2 separate regions of the Homo sapiens genome follow, and region 1 is linked to region 2. Evidence: promoter capture Hi-C in 16 types of primary human blood cells and fetal thymus (Javierre and others, 2016). All regions are on one chromosome and are shown on one strand. The core of a region is centred on a gene start or on the middle of the fragment in contact, and the rest is flanking DNA. Distances in the headings are between cores, read along the strand shown. Region 1 overlaps FAM118A (family with sequence similarity 118 member A). Region 2 holds the start of NUP50 (nucleoporin 50).

What was found. Contacts are between HindIII fragments. The CHiCAGO score rates a contact against its expected background, and 5 or more counts as called.
Region 1: a contact is called between a fragment that was not itself captured here and the fragment with the promoter of NUP50 in region 2, in 1 of 17 cell types (neutrophils). The highest score is 5.8, in neutrophils.

What each region holds. Positions count from the first base shown.
Region 1 is chr22:45,330,150-45,334,021 of GRCh38, forward strand. It overlaps FAM118A (family with sequence similarity 118 member A), which reads left to right. Exons shown (of 9, transcript NM_017911.4): 5 at 454-582; 6 at 2,276-2,561. Among named protein-coding and RNA genes, the nearest start is that of FAM118A, 22 kb to the left of the region's middle. The HindIII fragment of the contact is 3,100 bases long and covers 1,016-3,872 here.
Region 2 is chr22:45,161,472-45,165,469 of GRCh38, forward strand. It overlaps NUP50 (nucleoporin 50), which reads left to right and starts at 2,454. Exons shown (of 8, transcript NM_007172.4): 1 at 2,454-2,825. It overlaps NUP50-DT (NUP50 divergent transcript), which reads right to left and starts at 2,310. Exons shown (of 3, transcript NR_038956.1): 1 at 2,106-2,310. RefSeq lists silencers at 1,966-2,015, 2,786-3,015, 3,046-3,225 and an enhancer at 2,383-2,905. The HindIII fragment of the contact is 17,324 bases long and covers 1-3,998 here.

The DNA of each region.
Region 1 (3,872 bases), core at 1,316-3,815, 170 kb after region 2:
TGCTGTAACCTCAAGTGTTAAAGACATTTTCTATGTAACTGTCTGTCTTTAAATAAGTCCTTTTTTTCCACCCTGAGACAGGGTCTCACTTTGTTGCCCAGGCTGGTCTCGAACTCCTGAGCTTCAAGTCTTGGCCTTGGCCTGAGTAGCTGGGATTATAGGTATGAGCCACCCAGAAGCTCTTTTGCTATCATGGGACCAGCATGACTGGCGCTAACAGCCGATCCTCTCTCAGGTTTTACAGGTGTGACTGTACCGTCGTAGGACGGGAATAACTAGGGCTCACAACCAAGTTTCTCTTAGGTTTTGAAGGTATAAGTGTAAAGTGAAGCATCTCTCGATGATTCTTTCCAAGATAGGTTTAAAAACTATGAATCCATTTTCAGTATTTTCTTCTCTCTGTTTGAAACAGTTTGAGGATGTGTTTCTTTTTCTTGGCTTGATGTTTGGTAGGTCCTTGAATGGGCAAGAGGGCACATGAAGTACGGCGTCCTCCACATTCACGGCCTCTACACGGACCCCTGCGGGGTGGTGCTGGACCCATCGGGGTATAAAGACGTCACTCAAGACGCAGAAGTCATGGTACGGCCCGTCCTAATTAGCATCGGTGCGTCCTCTCAGGGATTACTGGTGGCCACTGGCCATTGGCTGCAGTTGAGTGGCTTCCCAGGCTCCAGGCGTCCGTGCCCTTCAGGTCGGCCCTGCACACAGTTGCTGAGGGAGGGGCCACGTCTCTTGTCCTCGTCTGTGTCTCTGGGGTCCCGCATGGTGCCTCCATGTTGAGTAGATGCTTGGCGAACATTTGTTGGAGGAAGGAATTCATGATTCCTTTCAAAGCAGAGATCTGCCTGTACCCTCTCTAGGAGCCCTGGCCATTTGGTGGTTCTCACCTGCCCAGGTATATAGTGAAACTCCTCAGCATGACATATAGGCCCCGTGCAGTCTAGAATGTTGTCCTTGTTCTTCCAGGCTTCTTCTGGTCTGAAATTCTCTGCTCTCCTTCCTGTAGTTGTAAAGCTTCATTTTTGGCCTGGTATAGTGGCTCATGCCTGTAATCTCAGTGCTTTGGCAGGCCAAGGCAGGAGGATTGCTTGAGTCCAGGAGGGAGAGGCTATGGTGAACTGGGATCGCACCACTGCACTCCAGCCTGGGCAACAGAGCGATACCTCATTTCTAAAAAAATAAATAAATAAAAGTAAATAACACTTCATTCTCTGTGAGGTTTTATTTTTCTTCTTCTTAAATAGACAGGGTCTTGCTCTGTGGCCCAGGCTGAAGTGCAGTGGCATGATCAAAGCTCACTGCTTCCTTGAACTCCTGGGCCCAAGGATCCTCCTGCCTTAGTCTCCCGAGTAGCTGGGACTGCAGGTGTGTGCCCCTACTCCCGGCTGTGAGGTCTTCCTGATGCCCTAGAATGCAGTGTGGAAAAGCTGTGCTTCTGGTAAGCACTGAGAAACTCGGTGTCTGTGGATTTACCCTCAAGCACACAGCTAGGCGCCCTGTTCCTCAGTGCTCATCCCTGGGCCGGTGTCATTCCGTGACAGGTGTCAGCAGATGAGTGACTGGGCAGATGCTTTTCAGTTGCATCATTAATACTGCTTGGTGATAAGAAATACCTGGGCTGAGACTGAGCCTCTCTGAGATATTTGGTTAGCTGCATTGGCGATTCCCTCCTGCCTGCCTGAGTGACCCCATGCAATCTGCTTTCCCTGTGCCCACCCGACCCCGTCAGTCATGGTCACTGATCCCCTCCTCAGCTCTCTTGCCCTCATTCGCAAAACCACCCCTGCAAGAATTCCCACATATGGCCCACTGAGATCAACATTAATTTCAGGGTGTTTTATGTGCATAATTCTGAACTGAAAACATTTACTGTCCTCATTTTGTGTTTTAATAATTTAAAATCGTACCCAATTTGAGAAGATTTGAGTTGGGTGACTGCACTGGTGAGTGTGTGGGGTGGGCGATGGGCTGGCCTTGCTGTTAGGGGTGTGGGCACTGCCACCCGCCTCGGCCAAAGACCAGCTACCCTGGCTTAGCTGGGGACAGGCAGGCTCAGCCCAGCTTTGGTCTTTGCTGCCACAGGCTGCTGCTGGGGGGTGGCCTGAGTGCCATGTCGGGAAGGATACTGTCCTTCTAACTGTGCTCCTCAGCGTGGCCCTGGGAACGCCTGTCAGGGAGCAGTGATGTAAAAGCACACACATGTGACTTGGTTAGTTGTAAGCTCTTGCTGTCTTTCAAATGAGCACTCAATTTCTTCATTGGCCTTTTCTAGGAAGTCCTCCAGAACTTATACCGCACCAAGTCCTTTCTGTTTGTGGGCTGTGGGGAGACCCTTCGTGATCAGATATTCCAGGCCCTCTTTCTTTACTCCGTGCCGAATAAGGTGGATTTGGAGCACTACATGCTTGTGCTGAAGGAGAATGAAGACCATTTCTTTAAGCATCAGGCAGATATGCTTCTGCACGGAATCAAAGTTGTATCCTACGGGGACTGTTTTGACCACTTTCCAGGATATGTGCAAGACCTTGCCACTCAGATCTGCAAACAGCAAAGCCCAGGTATGGGATCTGGCTTCACTTTCCTTTTTCTTTCTTTTTTCTTTTTTTTTTTTGAGACGGAGTTTTGCTCTTGTTGCCCAGGCTGGAGTGCAATGGCACCATCTTGGCTCACCACAACCTCCGCCTCCTAGGTTCAAGGGATTCTGCCTCAGCCTTCCGAGTAGCTGGCATTACAGGCATGCGCCACCATGCCTGGCTAATTTTGTATTTTTAGTAGAGATAGGGTTTCACCATGTTGGTCAGGCTGGTCTCGAACTCCTGACCTCAGGTGACCCACCTGCCTTGGCCTCCTGAAGTGCTGGGATTACAGGCGAGAGCCACCGCGCCCGGCCTGTCTTCACTTTTCAAGTACAAAACTCACAGGGCTCTTCCAGTTGTTTCTCTCTGTCTTTTTTTGATGGAACCCACATACCCCTAAAATTCACCAGTCTTCGTTATTATTTTTTAAAACTGCCTCTGTAATTTAAAATTAGAAGATTGGAGTAATTGGTGTCCTAGTGACAGTCTGTAACTAGAACTTTAAAGTAACTTCAGGCTGGGCACCGTGGCTCACGCCTGTCATCCCAGTTTTTTGGGAGGCCAAGGCAGGAGGATTGCTTGAGCCCAGGAGTTTAAGACCAACCTGGGCAACATAGGGAGACCTGGTCTCTACAAAAATGTTTTTAAAAATTAGCTGGGTTTGGAGCGGGCGCGATAGCTCACGCCTGTAATCCCAGCACTTTGGGAGGCTGAGGTGGGTGGATCACGAGGTCAGGAGATCGAGACCATCCTGGCTAACACGGTGAAACCCCGTCTCTACTAAAAATACAAAAAATTAGCTGGGCATGGTGGCGGGCACCTGTAGTCCCAGCTACTCAGGAGGCTGAGGCAGGAGAATGGCATGAACCCGGGAGGCAGAGCTTGCAGTGAGCCAAGATCGCACCACTGCACTCCAGCCTGGGTGACAGAGCAAGACTCTGTTTCCAAAAAAAAAAAAAAAAAAGAGCTGGGTTTGGTGGTGGACATCTGTGATACCAGCTACTCTGGAGGCTCAGGTGGGGGGATTGCTTGAGCCCAGGAGTTAGAGACTGCAGTAAGCTGTGATCAGGCCACTTATTCCAGTCTGGACGTCGGAGGAAGACCCTGTCTCTAAAAATAAAAAATACAGTAACTTTGAAGTTTACAGCTGTGCACACATGTATAGCTGGACACATTTATTCCTGTTTCAGGTTTCCTTAACCAAGAAGGAAAACTACCAGGCTAGCTTTATCAGTTGTGATACTTAACACTTGAAAGACGCAGATATCTCATATCTGTGTCCTATTACTGCAG
Region 2 (3,998 bases), core at 1,204-3,703:
GCCTGATCATAGAACGTTTTATGGATAGATATACTGGTAAGTATATTCACATGGCAAGCCATACTGCCCATTCCCCTCCTGCCCTATAAGTACCCCAGCCTGTAAGCAGCAGTGGGCTCTGGCATTAAGCTGATCCCCCATCTCTGTAGGTTTTTGCCATATACCTGTGTTGCTGTTGAGCTGCCCTTTGTTTTTTTTTTTTTTTTTTTTTTTTTTTGAGACGCAGTCTCACTGTATTACCCAGCCTGGAGTGCAATGGCGTGATTTTGGCTCGCTGCAACCTCTGCCTCGCGGGTTCAAGTGATTCTCCTGCTTCAGCCTCCCAAGTAGCTGAGATTACAGGCATGTGCCACCACGCCCCGCTAATTTTTGTATTTTTAGTAGAGATGAGGTTTCACCATGTTGGTCGGGCTGGTCTCCCACTCCTGACCTCAGGTGATGCACCCGCCTCGGCCTCCCAAAGTGCTGGGATTACAGGCGTGAGCCACAGCGCCCGACCTGTGTGTCATTCTTTAACTCTCGTCTTCCCTTCAAAACCTAACAATATCTTAAGATCAAAAGCATTCTTCATTTAGGTTTCGCTTTAAAGATAATATAGATCTTTGCCAAAGTCAGTAAACAAAGATGAACAATCCTTGTGTCAGGCCTCTGAGCCCAAGCCAAGCCATCGCATCCCCTGTGACTTGTACGTATACGCCCAGATGGCCTGAAGTAACTGAAGAATCACAAAAGAAGTGAAAAGGCCCTGCCCCACCTTAACTGATGACATTCCACCATCGTGATTTGTTCCTGCCCAACCTTAACTAAGTGATTAACCCTGTGAATTTCCTTCTCCTGGCTCAGAAGCTCCCCCACTGAGCACCTTGTGACCCCCCACCCCTGCCCACCAGAGAACAACCCCCTTTGACTGTAATTTTCCATTACCTTCCCAAATCCTATAAAACGGCCCCACCCCTATCTCCCTTCGCTGACTGTCTTTTTGGACTCAGCCCGCCTGCACCCAGGTGAAATAAACAGCCATGTTGCTCACACAAATCCTGTTTGGTGGTCTCTTCACACGGACGCGCATGAAACCTTGGTCGTGGGCCCTCGTGGTAGAGCCCATGTCCCCCAAGATTTCTTTGGCTGTGTTACCTTAGATTTGAACAAGCACTGTACCTAAGGCGGGCGCCTTCCTCCTCCCGCTTTCAGGAATGCCCTGCTCTGCCATTCTTTTGCTTTCTCACTTCTCTAATACACTTGCTTTCACTTTAGTCCGTGGACTCGCCCCGAATTCTTTCCTACGCGACATCCAAGAAGCCTCTCGCTGGGTCTGAGTGGAGACCTCTTTCTGGTAATAAACGGACTAGGGAGATTCGACTTTGAAGGTGAAAACAAAAACCACCATCCAGTTTATAAGAAGGCGCTCGAGGCCGGGAACGGTGGCTCAGGCCTGTAATCCCAGCACTTTGGGAGGCTGAGGTGGTGGGGCGGGGGGAGGGAATCACCTGAGGTCACGAGTTCGAGACCAGCCTGACCAATATGGTGAAAACCCGTCTCTACTAAAAATATAAACATTAGCCGGGCGTGGTGGCGCACGACTGTAATCCCAACTACTCGGGAGGCTGAGGCAGGAGAATCGCTTGAATCCGGGAGGCAGAGGTTGCAGTAGGCCAAGATCGTGCCACTTCACTCCAGCCTGGGCGAACAAGTTAAACTCTCCATCTCAAAAAAAAAAAAAAAAAAAGGGCGGCACTGGAAACAGCTGGGAGTGACAGGGCCAGGGATGAGGGATCGCAAGCTGCTGGTGAGAAAGGAGCTCAGAGGCTGCCTGGCCTACGGGCCAGGAGACCTCAGCGCAAAAAGCGCAGGACTCGTTCCCCTGCTCTACAGCTGAGTGCCCAGGACGGATCTCACTGGCTGAAAAAAACAGAAGAGAAGGCACCCAATGCAAAATCAAATGTCAGCGAACGAGGGGTCCTTTAACAGGCGGCCCACACGGCCCCTCCTGGCGCCGAGACCCAGCCCCTCCGGGCCACCCCGGCCAGGTACGACCAGCAGGGTCACCTGCGCGCGTCCCCCGAGACGGGGCCTCCTGATGTGAAGCGACCCCAGTGGCACCTCACACGATTCCCGAGGGTTGCGGGCGGCCTCTCCTCAGCCCTGCAGCTCCCACACGCGGACACCGCGGGCCTCGGCCATGTCCACTGACCGACCTTCCTCGCCGGAACTCCTCGCGCATCGCCGGCCCCTCAGCGGCGACTAGCGCGCGAACATCCTGGAAGACGCGTTGCCGGCCCCACGTGAGCCGACGCCCCAAAGCGCGGCTGCTGGCGCCGGCTACGAGATCAAGGTCGGCGCGTGCGCGCTTGCGCGAGACCGGCATTCTCAGCCCCGCGCCGGTTTCCAGGGAGCTGGGCGCATGCGCCGCGTAAGGGGCCCGGCCGGCGGAAGGAGGTGCTACTGCCGGAAGCGCCGGCGCGCTTGCGCAGTAGCTGAACGCGGGCGTTTCTTTCCTCCCTTTTTTTCGAATTGGTTTTGGGGGTAGATTCGAGTTACAAAATGGCCGCCCGGAGCGTGTTCGGCGCGGTTCCCCCAGCTGTCTCTGGCTGAACCGGCGCTCTCGCCTCCCTGCCGAACACAGCGTGAGGAGCCCCCCCAGGGATATGGTGTTTGAGTCTCTGGGCTTGCCGAGCACTAAGTCCTCTGAGTTCCGCAGCGCAGCACCGGAAGCGGCCGAGCGCGCTCAGCCCGGCGACCCCTGCGGGCTCCAGACCCCTGCGCCGCTGCGCCCCGGGTTTCGCCGCAACCAAGACCCAGCGAGTGCAGCGGCGGCCGCCGAGGAGGTGAGGAGCGGCGGCGGGCGCGGGAGGAGAAGAGGCTGAGGGCGGGAGCCTGGTGCTGAGAGCCCAGGGCCGGGAGGGCGGGAGCGGGCTCGGGCCTGGGAGGGGAGTGCGAGTGCAGGGCTGGGGACTGGACCCTGGGGAGGGAGGTGCGGGTTCAGCGCCGGGGGACGGGCCCCTGGGGAGGGGTGCGGGGCCGGGGGACCAGACCCTGGGGAGGGGCTTAAGGGGCTGGAGGACGGGACCCTGGGAAGTGGGGTACAGGGCTAGAGGTCGGGACTCTAGGGAGGGAGCCTGGGTCGGGCGCACGGGCCGGGCGGGGCGCGCGGTGGGGGAGCGACGGGTGGAGGGTGGGGTGGGATGACAGCGGCGACGCAGCCCCGGCTGTTTTTGAAGCGGGGCCCGGGCCCCACCGGGCTGCGGCGTCCGACTCGAGTGAGACTCTCCCCTGCGGCCCCGCCGGAGGTAGGGGGCTGGCAGGGCTGTCCTGGCGTGGTCTTCTCCGTTTCCTTCCTAGCGATTCCTCTCGAGCTTCCTCTCCCCCTGGCCGCCCCTCGTCTCTCTTCTCTTGGGCGCATTACCTCTCTGGCCTGTCTTACTGCGTTCCCGGGTTATTCATCACCCATTTGCTCGGTTCCATTAAGAACCAGCTTGGAGATTAGGTATTTCTGTCTCCTTACTTGGCCCCCTTGTTGTTTTCCTCCAACAAGGCACTTCACTATTAAGTGTAGCCAAATCTGTGTTTTCGTTTTAAGGTGATGTTGACAAGTTGAGCTTTCCAAGGGCAGAGCTACACCAGATGCCAGAGACCACATAACTATATCAGGCACAAATAATGTTTTTTTCCAGTTTACCTAGACTTTCAGTCTCCCACCACGTTGCTTCATACCTAGAAATCATGTCTAATTTGGTTTTTTACCCACAAACGCAAACGTTTTTTAAATTCCCTTTTATTGATTGTTTGATTGAGACTGGGTCTTGCTTTGTCACCAGGCCTCAGTGTAGTGGTAGCTCACTGTGTAGCCTGAAGCTCCTGGGCTCAAGTGATTCTCCTGCCTCAGCTTTCCAAGTAGCTGGGACCACAGGCGTGCGCCACTACGCTCGGCTAATTTTTTATTTCTATTCATCTAATCTATGTCCATCTTTATTTTCGTAGAGACCAAGTTGGTTTCCAAC